Linked DNA regions of Homo sapiens: region 2 is linked to region 1. Evidence: promoter capture Hi-C in 16 types of primary human blood cells and fetal thymus (Javierre and others, 2016). All regions are on one chromosome and are shown on one strand. Each heading gives the region's core, a stretch centred on a gene start or on the middle of the fragment in contact. The rest is flanking DNA. Distances are from core to core; before and after follow the strand shown.

The links. The method cuts DNA at HindIII sites, captures the fragments that hold promoters and counts their contacts. A CHiCAGO score of 5 or more calls a contact.
Region 2: a fragment that was not itself captured here is called in contact with the fragment with the promoter of NTPCR in region 1 in 1 of 17 cell types (total CD4 T cells); the score reaches 6.5 in total CD4 T cells.

The regions. Positions count from the first base shown.
Region 1 is chr1:232,947,145-232,954,598 of GRCh38, reverse strand. NTPCR (nucleoside-triphosphatase, cancer-related) reads right to left here and starts at 3,988. Exons shown (of 5, transcript NM_032324.3): 1 at 3,855-3,988. The coding sequence starts at 3,888. It overlaps LOC107985361 (a long non-coding RNA gene), which reads left to right and starts at 3,050. Exons shown (of 2, transcript XR_001738525.2): 1 at 3,050-3,271; 2 at 3,443-6,379. RefSeq lists enhancers at 1,400-1,609, 1,545-2,044, 3,173-3,712, 3,713-4,254, 4,167-4,266. The HindIII fragment of the contact is 8,064 bases long and covers 3,287-7,454 here.
Region 2 is chr1:231,859,994-231,867,447 of GRCh38, reverse strand. All of the region lies in intron 9 of DISC1 (DISC1 scaffold protein), which reads right to left. The region is part of intron 12 of TSNAX-DISC1 (TSNAX-DISC1 readthrough (NMD candidate)); the gene reads right to left. Among named protein-coding and RNA genes, the nearest start is that of DISC2, 45 kb to the right of the region's middle. The HindIII fragment of the contact is 4,730 bases long and covers 578-5,307 here.

The DNA of each region.
Region 1 (7,454 bases), core at 2,739-5,238:
TACCCCTCATAAGGTCCATACCTTTCAACAGGGGACTTTACCTGTCACCATGACTTTTTAAAATATGAGCCTTGTTCCCAATATGGATTTAAGTAAGTGGCATCATGACTACCCAACAATGGAAAGAGAGAGAAAACTCCTAGCATGTCTGCAAGTGAGCTATTTTGAGATACTACAGAGTTGCAAATCATGCTATTTCTAAGACTACCCACTCTTTTAAGCCTCCTTGACATAAAATATGATCCATTATTCTTATTTAATGTATCTATCTTCACACTTCACATTAAAATAATGGCACCTGGCTTTCTGGAACATGAACAGCAACACAACAGGATTCTGGCTACAGTAAGCCACAGTGAGCATGCAGCTGGTAGAACTGTGTAGAACATAAAATGATGACATTCTAATCCAGCCCTGGCCATCAGTAACAACTGCTTTAGGAAAGTCACTAAAGAATCTGTTTCATGCAAGTAATGGCATTGCCGAATGTGTAAGCTGCTACTTCTTTTCTGAAGGGCAATTTCAATGCGCCTGCCACAGCACCCTGTAGTTCATGACTAGGAATTCATCCTCAGGAAACATCAACAATACAAATGTGTGAAAGAGGACATTCACTGCAACATTCTTTATAATAGCAAAACACTGAAAACAACCTAAATGTTGATTGTAAGGGAATGTTAACTCATGGCACCATGTATATAATAGCACATAAATACACAGAAATACCATGCAACCATTAAAAAATATACTGCTTATATGTATTTATTAGCATGGAAAATAGACCACAATGTATGAAAATAATATATGGAAAAAGCAGGTTAATAGCAGAAACCATTCCATTATGTTTTTTTTAAAGAATGGTCAAGTACGTGTCTACAGAAAAAAAAAATGTCAAGAAGAATACAGAACAAAGATTTACAATGTTGATTTCTGATGTTCAAATTCCCTGTGATTGTCACTTTCTTCCTTAAACTTTTCTTGTTTTTTTTAATTCTTATACTGAATGGGTCTTACTCTTATCCTAACAAAAATTGCCGTTTATATTTTGAAAAAGATAAAATGGAGCAACGGTAACTATTCCTGTTCACAAAGGGTATACTGTGGGGACTGTATGTTGTGTAGAACATAGTAGAGCAATAAATAGGAAGCATTTGGGCAAAGTCCCTTTTGGCTTCTTCAGCTCTAGGAATCTTCTTTCAGTTAATTTTTTCTTCATTAGTTAAGCTGCTACCCCAATGCTGTCTGGATAAGAAATGACCTCTGCTTCAGGAGACCTCGAGATGATAGCTGTATACCAGGCACAAACAGATCAGAAAGCTCTGGAATTATTTTGGTTCTGGTTCTCCCCTAAGCAGATCCTCAGATAAAGATTCAAGTGCAGGTAGTTTAACCTGGGCAGTGACAACATGATGGACTGGCAGGGAAGAAATTCAGAAAGGGAAGGGAAGGACACCAGCATGAGGTGCACTGTCAAGCAAGTTCCACTGGGGGCAGCTGGAGCTTCAACCCCCTGGGGAATCCTAAGGGACAAGTCAGGGCAAGTGGCTCAGTTATCCTGTCTGAGGAGTGAGAAAGTAGGGAATTTATCAACTAACTTTCACCAATCACAGGTTGAAGGCTAATCCCAGGGCACAGGAATTCCCTGGCTCTTCTGGCCTGCTCTGTTTGCAGGCCAAGTGGGCTCCAGGGACCAGAGAAAGCCCTCCAAGATGAGTCATGGGTACAGACAGTTGGAAATCGGAAAAAATGCTAAGTGCCAGGGGCACTAAGAGGATATGCAACAAAAAGTGACCTCTTTGAGAGGAGACTTTACCTGATGGTCTGAACATATTGAGAAAACAGAAAGAAACTAGGCAAATAAAAACACCTGACAATAACTCCTAATGGGGAAAAAAGTTATGTGTAAAAGGAAAAAAAAAAAATTAGAGGGCATGGTGGTGCATGCCTGTAGTACTAGCTACTAGGGAGGCTGAGGTGGGAAGATGGTTTGAGCCTGGAAGGTGGAGGTTGCAGTGAGCCAAGATTGTGCCACTGCACTCCAACCTGGGCAACAGAGAGAGGCCCTGTCTCAATAAGAAGAGGGAAAAAAAAGATGGGTAAGGTGGCTCACACTTATAATCCCAGTATTTTGGGAGGCCCAGATGGGAGGATCACTTGAGGCTAGGAGTTGGAGATCAGCCTGGGCAACATAACAAGAGACAGGTCTCTACAAAAAAAAAAAAATACCCGGGTGTGGTGGCATGCGCTTGTAGATCCAGCTATTCAGGAGGTTGAAGTGGGAGGATCACTTAAGCCCAGGAGTTTGAGAATGCAGTGAGCTATAACTGTTTCACTGCACTCCAGCCTGGGTGACAAAGCAAGATCCTGTCTCTAAAATAAATAAATAAATGGAAAAGAAATCATAGATTACTATGTGGCTCTGTTGTGATTGTCTTTACATGGCCATAATACTGTAAACATTGACTAATGAAAATTACGCTGTAACTACATTAAGAAGAGAAGGAGAAAAGACAAAGGTGCGTGGGTTTGAGGACAGGTTTAAGAGAGCTACACTGTAGAATTATTTGAGTCTTTCAACTACGTGTAGGTAAGACTTTGATAAAGCAGAAACAAGAACCACCATCAATACAATCACGGTAACAGGACACCTCCATTAATAAAACACACAGTTGTCTTGGGGTCAGCCTGCTGAGTATCAAACTGCATTCCAAGTTTCAAATAAAGGATTGACAAACCAACTTTCAGAAAACAGTTCTTTGCAATACTTAGGAGTGACTTTAGATAGCAGGCATTTCTCAAACCACCCTCCTCCTCCTCACCCCCTGCTCCCCAACTCCCCCATCCAATGCCTGACAAAATCCCAAAGTCTGCAATATTAGCTGTAGCCTTTGCTACTTACAACTAAACATAATCATTAAAATAAAGTGAAAGAGAATTCTAGATCCAGGGTTACAGCCTTTGATATCTGAACCCACACTAAACTTCAAAATTAGATTTGCCTTGCAAAGGAGCTGAAGAAATCACTTTCTCCACTCTTAGCCCATCTATCTTTTTTTAGCCTATCTGATGCAGCCTACCTGTCCTTTTTAGTAATGCTTGATACATGGGTAGCGCCTTGGTTTAAAAGCACCTCCTCCTACACCTCTCATCTGACCTCAACGCTATCCTGCTTCTCAGATGAGAACTCCACAGGCCACAGGGTTGAGGGATCTGACAGACATCAGGAGGGGACAGCGACAGGAACAAGCAAGAGTGTCTGAGAAGGGCTCCTGTAGGTACCAAAGCTTCTCCACCTCTGGCCTCAGCTGTGGAGGGAATTCGTGGGGATGGAGATGGGGATGGGGGTGGGGGGATGAACTTAGATGGGAAAGAAAGGTTACAACTTCAGTTTCGCTGTCCTCCAACTAAAATTTACCATTTTTTTTTTGCACGATCAATGTAGCAAAGACCCACAGTAAGGAAATACCTGTGACTATCAACAGAAATTAGACATCTCCACTTCACATCGCGGTTGCCGCAGATCTCTTGAAATACCATTTGTGCAGACCACAACGTCAACACTACAGTAGGAGTTACCGCTGCCGCTGGCCCCTGCGGTTTCTGCCCTTCATCAAGAAGCCAGTCTAGGACCCCCTCACAAGTGTGTTCTAATCCTTTAGGCCCTGTGTCTTTTAAATCACGTTTTCCGGGAAGGAGTACAAACTCTTCAGACTACCAAGCCCGCCATTTAAATTGGGAACTTCAGAGGCCGGAGCCCTGGAGCCGGAGACCCTCCCCGACAGCACAAGGTCGCCCGCAGCCCGCGCGCCCCCACCCCCTCGACCTCTTGGAGGTGGGGATCCCCTCAGGGTTACCTGGGGGCCCCGTTAGGAACACGTGCCGGGCCATACTGGTGGGCGGGGGTAGGGGTTGCGGTCAGGGGAGCAGTCCAGGTTGGGGTCGCAATTCAGGTCAGGTCCGGACCAGGGTCGCGACTCAGGACCCGCCCACCGCGTGTCGCAGGCCCCGCCCCCAAGCGGTGCTTTGACCGGAAGCACCGCCCTCAAGACCACGCATGCGCCTTCTCCCGAGTCCCCGGTCCGCGCCTGCGCATTCAGCCCTCGGCATTGGCGCCTGTGCCGCGGCAGTTCCTATAGGCGGAGCGGGTTGTACGGTCTCTTAAGTTTCATTCTGGGTTCAGGGCTTTTGTGGGGTATTTGCAGAGATAAGTGCGTGAGAACGTCAGTTATTAAACTATTGCTGCTTCAAGTCAGCGCCATCACCCAAGTTCTGCCCCTTGACTCCGGACCTAGGAGCTGAAATTGCCCAAGGCTGCCGGGACAGCCCTTTTGTAGAAGGTTTGTGACCTGGAAGCATTCCTCAAAGGGGGATGCCATGTTAATGACTCCAACTTTGTTCTCAAACATTCCTGCAGAATAGAATCAGCTGGGGAGTTTTAAACTTGCTCTGATGCCTGGGTTTCACCTGCAGTAATAGGGAGTGTCAGAAGACAAAATTACAAGTTTAGTTTAAAGATCTAATTGGCTTATATTTAGGATCTAGAATCGAGAAATAGATCATTTCATAAAGCAAATAGAGTGTTCCAATGAGTTGTGCAGAGGAGGTTGGCTTTATGGGCAAAAAAAGGCTGAAGAACAAAACAAAGAGTGGGTATTTCAAAGTTACTTTCCTTATAGGGTTAAAACAGATTGGACTTCGTTATTGTACTGACTCAGGTTAACTACAATCTCCTGTTTTTTGGGAAAACGGGCCTGTTTCAAAGTTCAGTTTGGTTACATGGCACTTGGCACAAGTGACTCCATTCTGGTTTGGTCTAGTCTGCTAGGACCTAGTGCAGGAGGTTAGTCCAAAACAATGGCCTCCCATAAATCTTGTTTAACATGAGTAATTGGTCTTGAGCGAGTCTTGAGCACCTGTATTCTTTTTTCTTCTTTCTAAACTCCAGGAAGTTCCTGAAGTGCGCTAGGGTTGAGAACCACTGGTGTAGGCAGGCTTCCCGTCCTCAGCCATGCATAGGACGCCCAGTTTTCCCTCTTTACTTTCACACCAAAGTGTATAAAGATCTCCTCTTGCAAAGAATTAAATAGCTTCTCCGTCTCACTTTACCACTGCAAGTGTTCCGGCCAACGAATGACGTGGCAGTGGCCTTGGGCCACATTTACCTGTAAACTCTTTCAGTCTAACATGTGTACAGCTTAATTTGTAGTCAGTCGTTCCCCATCCTGGCTGAGAAAGCAGTTCAGTGAGTGCTCAACTTAATTGGTTTCTGCCCACACATGGACCTCTTGGTTTCCCTTTAGCCTGAGACATATGCCAGTCCAATGATTATCTAAAAAAACAAAGTTGGATTTGTAAAATATAGCTGTCATCACCATCATTTCTGCAACATTTGTAATGCTCTATTATTATAACAGTATACTATTTATTATCCCAACTGTTAATGTAGGGCCTTCCACCTTGATTTATTTTGCAGTCCATATATGTTGAATACAGTGAAAAGTTGATATAGTAAAGTAAATTCATAGGAGGAGCTTCCAAAAAAAAGGAAAAAAGTATATGTATCTCTTGTATCAAAAGTACTCGTTTTAAATGTTAATCAGATAGCATTTTCCATCACTGAAAAGCAGTTTGGATTTGCAAGGCTCACCGGAAGTTGGGTTCTTTTGTTTTGTTGCTGTGCCTGGAATTCTGGCATCAGTTTAAGTAGCTCAAAGATACATGGAATTCAGATATGGTGAATCAACGTCTCACAAAACAGAAAAAAAGACTCCATAGTTGAATGTACTTTATCCATGGAAAATGAATTATTTGGATGGTAGTTCCACGGATATCTTCTTGTTAGAAAATTCATTGATTTGATGCTTAATTTCTACAGTTTCCTGTATGTGTTATTAGGTAACAATAACAAAAAATTAAATAGCTTATATCTCTTAGAGATTAACAACAAAAGAAGATGGCATAAATTGAAACAAATTTTAAAATAAATGGGATCTTAAAGTACTGTACCATACTGAATCCAACTTTTGCTTCCTATCTAATCAACATCCAATGGACGGATGTTTGTGTCCCCCCAAAATTCATATTGTTGAAATCCTAACCCACAAGGTGAAGGTATTAAAGTGTGGGGCCTTAAAGAAGCAATTAGGTAATCAGGTCACTAGAGTGGAGTCCTCATGAATGTGATTAGTACCCTTAGAAAAAGGCGGGAGAAAACTTGCTTTCTATCTCTCTGCTCTCTGCCATGTGAAGATACGAGGAGAAGACTGCTCTCTGTCAACCAAGATGAGGGCCTTCCCCAAGAACCCAGTCGTGTTGGCACCCTGATCTTAAACTTCAGCCTCCAGAGTTGTAAGAAATAAATGTTTTTTTGTTTAAGCCACTCATCTGTGGTACTCTATTATAGTAGCCTGAGCTAACACACAAGGTAGAATTAATTACCTAAGGAACAGGTGATTCCAAAGATTTCTTCTGCAACACCTGGGTGCAGCCTCACTTATGACAGGATGCAGTACAGTTCTTTATTAAAACAGTTTGTAGGTACAACTCTACAGTCTCTACAATTATAAAATACCCTAAAGTCCAAAAAACACTGTTTATTTTGTTTTCATATCTACCCTTTTCCCAGAACTGTCCTAATTTTTAAACTGCAAATTCTGTGTCTTAGAAAGCCCCTCAATCCCGAGCAAACCAGGATGAATGGTCATCAAACTGTTAAAGGAACATTTGGGAAGTAAAGCAGAAGGTTTCATGTGGTTAAACAAGATAATTCCTTCTTACAAACAAGTCAAAGGCTAATAATACTTTATTGTAAGCTGGTTGTCTTGTCAGCGGTGGTTATAGAATGACTGTTTAATGCAGTCTGTACCTAAACTCTGAGCCATTCATACCCTGAGTTCTAATCTCTGTGCAGAACAATGTTCTATCCTGCCAGTAACCCAGTAGGACAGAAGCAGAGATGACTCTACACCCTCACCCCACCCCTTCCTACACCGCATGCCTGGATGTCCCCCACGCCCAGCTGCTACTGGCATCCTGTGGCATCTTCCTGGCTGGACACAGAACAAGAGTTCTGGCATATTTAGGGTACAGTTTCCTAAGTACAGGAAAACTGAAAACAGAACAAAGAAAAAGTATGGATGTGAAAATAACCAAGTGGGAAGAGAGACCATTGTGTTGTTTGGCCAGCCCACTGTTCATTTCACTGTATGGAAATAGCAGCTAAATTCTCCTTTTAGGAACCCCCTTTCTCCCAGGCTCTGTGATTGATAGGAGTGAACCTCCCTCCCTTTCTCATTATCCAAGGGGAATACATGACCCAAGCCTGGTCAACGAGATCATTCTATCTTCCCAGCCTCAGTGATTGACTCTGAGGAAGCATGTGACCCGGGCAACACATCTACCCCTAGCCAGTGGGGATCGAGGACAGCCACCAGCCACCATGACTGAAGCAGAGG
Region 2 (7,454 bases), core at 1,693-4,192, 1.1 Mb after region 1:
TTAAACACAGTTCCAAACCACTTTTTACAGCCTCCAGGGTCTAGCTACGGGAAACCTTCCACGAATCAGCCCCAGTTCTTCTATGCTGCCTATTCTCATCTGAAGCAAAAGAGGTACATCCGTTGCATGCTAAACAATTACTTTCTTTAAATCTTTCTCATTTCCGATCACATGGAATGGCAGTGTGATAGCTAACCAGACATGTGAATAAGTCATGGAAGATTTTTTTAAAGCAGATTTAAATAAAATATCCCTCATTATGGTGCTTAATTCCATCTACTGCTAAGAAGACAGCCATCTGGAGAATACCAGCAAGGTGGGTATTAAGGAGGCATGCGCACCCCATAACGTAACACTGAAGCAGAGGTTTGACGCCAGGCCTCAAGAAGACTGGTGATGCTATCAAGAAGGAATGTAATTGTGTTGATTTATGTGTTATTTTTATTCTGTATTTTAAAGGCATGAAGACTGGCTATCCCGAGGTGATAAATGAGGTCTTAGAAATGGCATCTTTCTTTTGAAGTTTGTCCCACGAAGTTGTACCCTCCTGCGGCAGAGGATGAGCAGACGGTAAGCTTTGCCACAGCGCCCTCTTGTGTTCAGAGAACCGCAATGACAACATTTCCTCGTATTAAGAAACTATCATGACTTTAATTACAGATTAATTATACCCTTTCGTCAAGGTTGAAAGAAGAATCCATACAAAGCACGACGACTAGAAAGTCGAAGACATGCTTTCTTTTCTTTTTTTCTTTTTATTGTGACATCATGTCTCTTCAATGCCCTTTCAATTAATAGTAGTTGAGCGCTGGGGGCTGAAGTCAGACTCTCTGGGTTCAAATCACAGTGCTGTGTCCTGCAGGCTGTCCTCAGGCAAGTTGCTGACTTCTCTGTGTCCAGGACTCTGCATCACAGTACTTATATCCTAAGGTAGTAGTGAACATTAAATATTAAGGACTTCGAAAGTGCCTGGAGCCTTGTAATAAGTGTTAGCTGTTGGTCATTATCATTGATGTTATTTTTTTTAATAAATCAAAGAATTGTTACATTTCTGCTTGAAGTGACTTCAGAGATAATTAAATCCAAGTTTTTCATTTTGTAGATGAGAAATCTCTGGTCCAAAGGAGCAAAGTGAACTGCCTACAGTTGCCTAATTAGTCAATGGCAGAGCTGAAACTGGAATTTAAATCTTCTGGTTCTCTAGGGCCCGGGTTTCTGTCTTTTCTGGAGAACAGCTCCCATAGGAAGCTCTTTTTGCTCTGCACGTGCAGGGGGTAGACTTGCAGGAACTTCATGCAGGGCCCTGGGGGGATGTGGGCCACTATGGGAAAGGCACTGAGCCACACACACACACCAGGCTCAGAGGTCTGGACACAGGAGTAATGAGTTGAGTAATCCCTGTCCTTTTTTGCCATGACAATGAGATCGATAATCCAAGACTTACAGAACTGGATGATGTGAACTATAGTCTGCCTAGAAATATTGGTCTTAACCACTTTCAGGAAGACTAAAATGACCACACACATATACAAAAAAGTCTAATGCTTGTAAATCTGTTTTTAGAGTACCAGATTCCTAAGCTGCCATATCTTCTGAGATAATATCCAACTCCAAAGCTGAGCTTCCAAGAGGGCCTTGTATGAATATGGAACTAAGAGGCACACTGGCTGCAGACCTGACTTCTCTCATGTACTGTTTCTGTTCATTTTCTTTTTAAAGAAAATATCGTATCACAAAAGGACAAATGTCATGTGATTCCACTTATATGAGGCACCTAAAGTAGTCAAATTCAGAGACAGAAAGTATAACAGAGGTTGCCAGAGGCTGGGGGAAGGGAGAATGAGAAGTTATTATTTAATGGGTGTGGCCAATATTGCCAAGGAAATAGACGTCAGTCTACAGATCAGTTAGTGTTTACATTTTCAAAATTCAACCTAATGTTTATTAGGCTAAAGATTATGTTATCTTGAATTAAGACTCATAATACAACAAAGGTTTAGCCTCCCATCCTGGGTGAACCTCTGGGATTTCTTAACCTCCTTTTGATTTTCTGGCATCACTGAAAGCCGACATATAAACAAACCAGTGTAACACAATCACTGCCCAATGTATTGGTGGTCTTTGGCAAACATGAAGAGTGGGCATTAACGAATGATACTAGACAGTTCTCTTCCCCTGCAAAGACATGTGGACTTCAAATAGGAAACATCAGCATACAGCAATTGTCAGACTCCCAGGTCAGCATGTTTGTTTGGAAAGAGCTCTAGAGTGAAGACCGAAAGACAGGGTTCTGGCTCCAGCTCACCTACACACTTGTCGGACCTCGGCAAATGGAGTGAGTTCTCTGGGCCTTTGCTTGCTCCTCTCTAAAACAGGGACTCAATAGGTGATCTCTAAAGTCCTTCCGTGATCATTCTGTGACCTGGGCCCAATACCGCTCCAGGTCTACCACAGCCGTGGTGTGGAGTGCTATTCATAACTACATAACTGAGAAACTTTCAAAGGAGATTTAATTGTACTAAGACTACCATGCAACCAAATAAAATAATTAGACTGCTACTTTCTCCTTCTGGAGTAATCTGATATTCAGGATGAGAGATTTAACATAGGATTTTATATATCAAAACAAAAATAAAATTGGAAGGAACAATATACAAGAATTTTTGTATAAGGAAGCCTTCTTAACATCTACCTTTCTTTTTAAACGGTCATCACGTCGTTCAGTACCAAAAAATGGTGTCCACCTCCTCAGATTTTTTTGTTGTTGTTGTTGTTTTATTTTGTTTTTGAGACGAGTCTCCCTGTCACCCAGGCTGGAGTGCAGTGGTGCGATCTTGGCTCACTGCAAGCTCTGCCTCCCGGGTTCATGTCATTCTCCTGCCTCAGCGTCCTGCGTAGCTGGGATTACAGGCGCCCACCACCACACCCAGCTAATTTTTTGTATTTTTAATAGAGACGGGGTTTCACTGTGTTAGCCAGGATGGTCTCAATCTCCTGACCTCGTGATCTGCCCACCTCGGCCTCCCAAAGTGCTGGGATTACAGGCGTGAGCCACTGCGCCCGGCCCACCCCCTCAGGTTTTCTAATGACACTACCAATATATAGAAAACAGAGGCAACGCTTATGAGCCTCTTATAACTGAATGAAAGATCAAGGTGCTTGTTATACAGACGACATATAGGGAAGCCTGATGTAGGAAAAAAAAATGAAAACTTCTAAAATTCCTTTCTGTTTTCATCTGAAAATTTGCCCTCAGAAATGAGAATAATGAAAAATTGCAAGTATCGTTTTATAAATGATGAGTTGCATGTGTTTTTATTGTTAATTTTGTGTGACGAAAACTGTTTCACTTCCAATGTTCATATACTGCTACCTGGCTATACTCTGCAAAAGGATTTATGAAAAAGATCTTCATAAAAAAAGTCTATAGTACCAGCCAGTACAGCCCTTTTGTGTGGAAAGGCACTAAACAGAACTCCCCAGTGCAAGAGCAAAGGGCATTTTTCTCTTCAGGCGACACAGTGATTTCCTCCAAGAAAAGAAGAATTGAATAACCGCTTTGATTCTGAGTTTCCGCTCATGGACTTCTGATCTACACTGGTCCTTTTCCTCCACATTGTTCCTGGAGAAACTGGCAGTAGACTAGACCTTGGCTCCAGCATCCTTTCATTCTTACGGAGATGAGAAACCAGGGACTCATTGCCCTACTTTCTTAAAAAGCCCAGGGCAAAGAAATGGATGAACTCACCTAGAGATTCTGATATTGGAAAGAAGTTGCAATCTGTCCCATGACAGTTTTATGAGAAGTTCAATCTACCCCAAGAGTCTGAAAGAACCCATATTGTGTTATTAAAAGCAATGGTTCGAATCTACCTGAATTCAACATAAAGCTATGCTTTTGTTAAAAGAATGTTTTAGGCCAGGCGCGGTGGCTCACGCATGTAATCCCAGCACTTTGGGAGGCCAAGGCAAGGAAATTGCTTGAGGCCAGGAGTTCAAGACCAGCCTGGCCAACATGGTGAAACCCCTTCTCTACTAAAAGTACAAAAATTAGCCAGGCATGGTGGCGGGTACCTGCAGTCCCAGCAACTGTGGAGGCTGAGGTGGGAAAATTGCTTAAACCTGGGAGGCAGAGACCGCAGTGAGCCAAGATCGCACCACAGCACTCCATCCCGGGCGACAGAGACCCTGTCTCAAAAAAAAAAAAAAAAAAAAAAAAAAAAAAAAGAACATTTTATAAACTATGTCAATCAAAACTAAATTCTTGTTAGTTCTATATTTTCATGGCAATGAGCCTGCAGACCCTGTGAAGGCATTACAAACTATGCACGTGCTGAAACTTGGAGCTTATCTGCAAGCTAATGAAGACATGTTGGTCTTTTATTATCCCTTTTATTACCAAAATGGGGTGACCGACTTTATTATACAAAAGCCATATAAGTCCTTTGCAGAGTCAGAGACTAACTCTGTCACTTATTTGCTATGAATGTGGGCATTTTTTACTTACATGAGCCTCGATTTCAACAAACTGAGAACAATGTCTACCTTCAAGGTGAGAAATAAACTAATATTCATAAAGTATTCCCAACTGTGCCTGACACACGAAATCTCCAGCAAACAGCAGCTGCTGCCAGCATCACATCATCACTCCATGGTGCAAGTCATTTTGAAATGATCACATGATTTGAAAATATTACCAAACTAAATGTCTTTCCAAGTGCAGCAAAGATATCCAGATGTTTCCTGGGTCACCTGAAGTCACCATTATTAACCCAATAAATGGCCAGAGACACTTAAATCCTCTCTAAGTGAAGAATGAAGAGGTCTTTCTAGTTCTGATTCTATAACATTAACTAAGGGTTGTCTGGATACCACCCTTAAGTAACAAAATATTACAAAGCAATCATACACCAGATACTTCATTTTAAGACAGAAATGGTGTCTGAAAACCAGAAGAAAAAAATTTACCAAGTTCTTTCATAAGCAGACTATTATTCTTATCCTCAAATAACTAAAAATTATCTGCTAAAACCATCGAAGTAGTCATTTCTTGAGTATACTTCTTTGGAGTCCAAATATGACACCACTAAGGGAATCCTCACAATGGGAAACAGTTGCCATGAGTGATGAGAACACCAAGAATGCTCAGCTCAGAGGCAGCATTCCGTCTCTGCTCTGCCTAATAATAGCTGCTGGAGCTACTTCCAGCCACTTAGGCCTCTGAGTCTCAGATGCCTCATGTATAACACCACCTACTCTACAGGGTTGTTTTGTAAATCAGAAATGAAATAAAACGATGATAAAGCTTTTTATCATCCGTAAAGTAATATAACTGTTGTCAGGTGTGGTGGGTGCTGGAGCCATCCTCCTGGTGAAAGCCAGTTGATAAACTTTCAAGAATTTTGTGAGCCACTTGTTAAACCAGAAATAGCTGGAAATCAGCCACAGTGGGAGATTTACACTATGGAAATGGCCAGACGTTGCCAATCAGGACTTTTTTTTCCTGGAGAACTGGTTCCTAAGCATTTAACAGCACACTATTGGTCCTAGTCGCTGTTGTAAATAGATATAAAGCTTCCTAGGCCTACAGATGAGTGAGCAAACATTAATGGGAAAGTAATCTACTATGAGGTAATATCTCAATCAGACTCTTAAAACATTCATTGAATGAGCAAAGCAAGAAATAAGAGAGCATACTAAGAGATGAAAATGGAAAACTATCACGTGACAGCAACCTCTTGTACATGCTGTGGTCTGACCTTGATATTGAATGGCATCATCAAATTGCATAATCACTAAGATCTACCAAAACATAAAGCAAGTTAAAAGCTAAATTTACTCAAGATATAGTGGCTACTGTAGTGAAATCAAAAAGAAATAAATACAAATAACTAAATAATAATTAGGCTCTGAGAAAAATTCAGTCAAGTATGTCCTTTCTGAGAAAAAACTTCCAAAACCACAACAACCAAAAAAAAAAAAAAAAAAAAAAAAACTTGTCAAAATCAATGACAGAGTCTGGGTGCGGTGGCTCACTCCTGTAATCTCAGCACGTTGGGAGGCCAAGGTGGGGGAGGATTGCTTGAGGCTAGGAGTTCAAGACTAGCCTGGTCAATGTAGCAAGACCCCATCTCTAATAAAAATAAATAAATAAATAATAAAAACAATGACAGAAAAGGCTTTTAACCTCAAAATGTAAGAAACACTCCACCCGAAGCACACTCTCAATCATGTCTCATTGCATCTTTGTTAGACAGATAACCAGTCCCACCCTGATGGATTTCAATTCATACAACGGCACCATCACAGAGCCCAGATGAAGCTCCTGTTTCTCATGTTCTTCAAGGACTTTCCTGTGCCGACATTCACAGGAACAGAACAAAACTAAGTTGAAGACTTTCTTTAGATAAAGGAAATAGAAAAACACAATACCATTTGAAGGCAAAAGTGCCCTTGCGGAAAAAAATTGATGAGGGACAGAATCATCTTCAACTGCTAGGTCCAAAAATGCAGTCTGCAATTCTGCCAAACTCATCCCACACAGGACTCTGCTGACACAGGTTACTGTATTGCAAGAGGATGAAACTGGCTTAGATTAGAAAGATTTGTCCCAATTCAAGGAATGAATCAGTGAGAGATAAAGGGTAGGGAAATGTGTCTCATTCAAGCCAAATTTCAGTTTTTGCAAGTGCAAAAAGATAACAAAAAATGAGAATTGTGGGGAATGGAAAATGCTTGATAGTGATAAGTCTGAAGATAGAAAAGAATAGACTCTGCAGCCGGCAAAAATATTATGACATGGAGCCAGGAGGGAAAAAATGTTGGCCCTTTATTTTCTTAAATTCTTTCCTGAAAACGTGGGCTTTTCATATCTGCTTAACCCTGAGAAGGCTCCAAACACACACATCGTAAGACATTACACAAAATATTTTTTGATATGTAGGTTTCTAATCCAAAAATCTGAAATTTGAAATACTTCAAAATTCACTATTTTCTGAGCACCAACATGATGCTCAAAGGAAATGCTGACAGGAGCATTTTGGATTTTGGATTTTGGATTTTGGGATTAGAGATGCTCAACAGGTAAATAAGCAAATATTCAAAAAAAAATCCTAGATCTAAAACAGTTCTTGTCCCAAGCATTTTAGATAAGGGATACTCAACCTGCATTATTATGTTGAATGTGTCTTTGGCTTAGAATATTGTCAGTTTTTCATAAACTAGAAAAATCAATCAGATGCCAAGATTCTTTAAAGTTTTATAGATTTCTGGAATAAAACCCTAAACTATTTAGAGTTAATTTACTTTGCAAATATGAAATTGTATGGAAGAAAAAGACATCACTCCATTTCTCAGTTTTTCACCCTTGATTTCCAATTTTCTGTGGTACAAGATCTCTACCTAAATCCACATTAAAGCATTACATTTAATCTCCTTCCATCACTAAGCCTTTT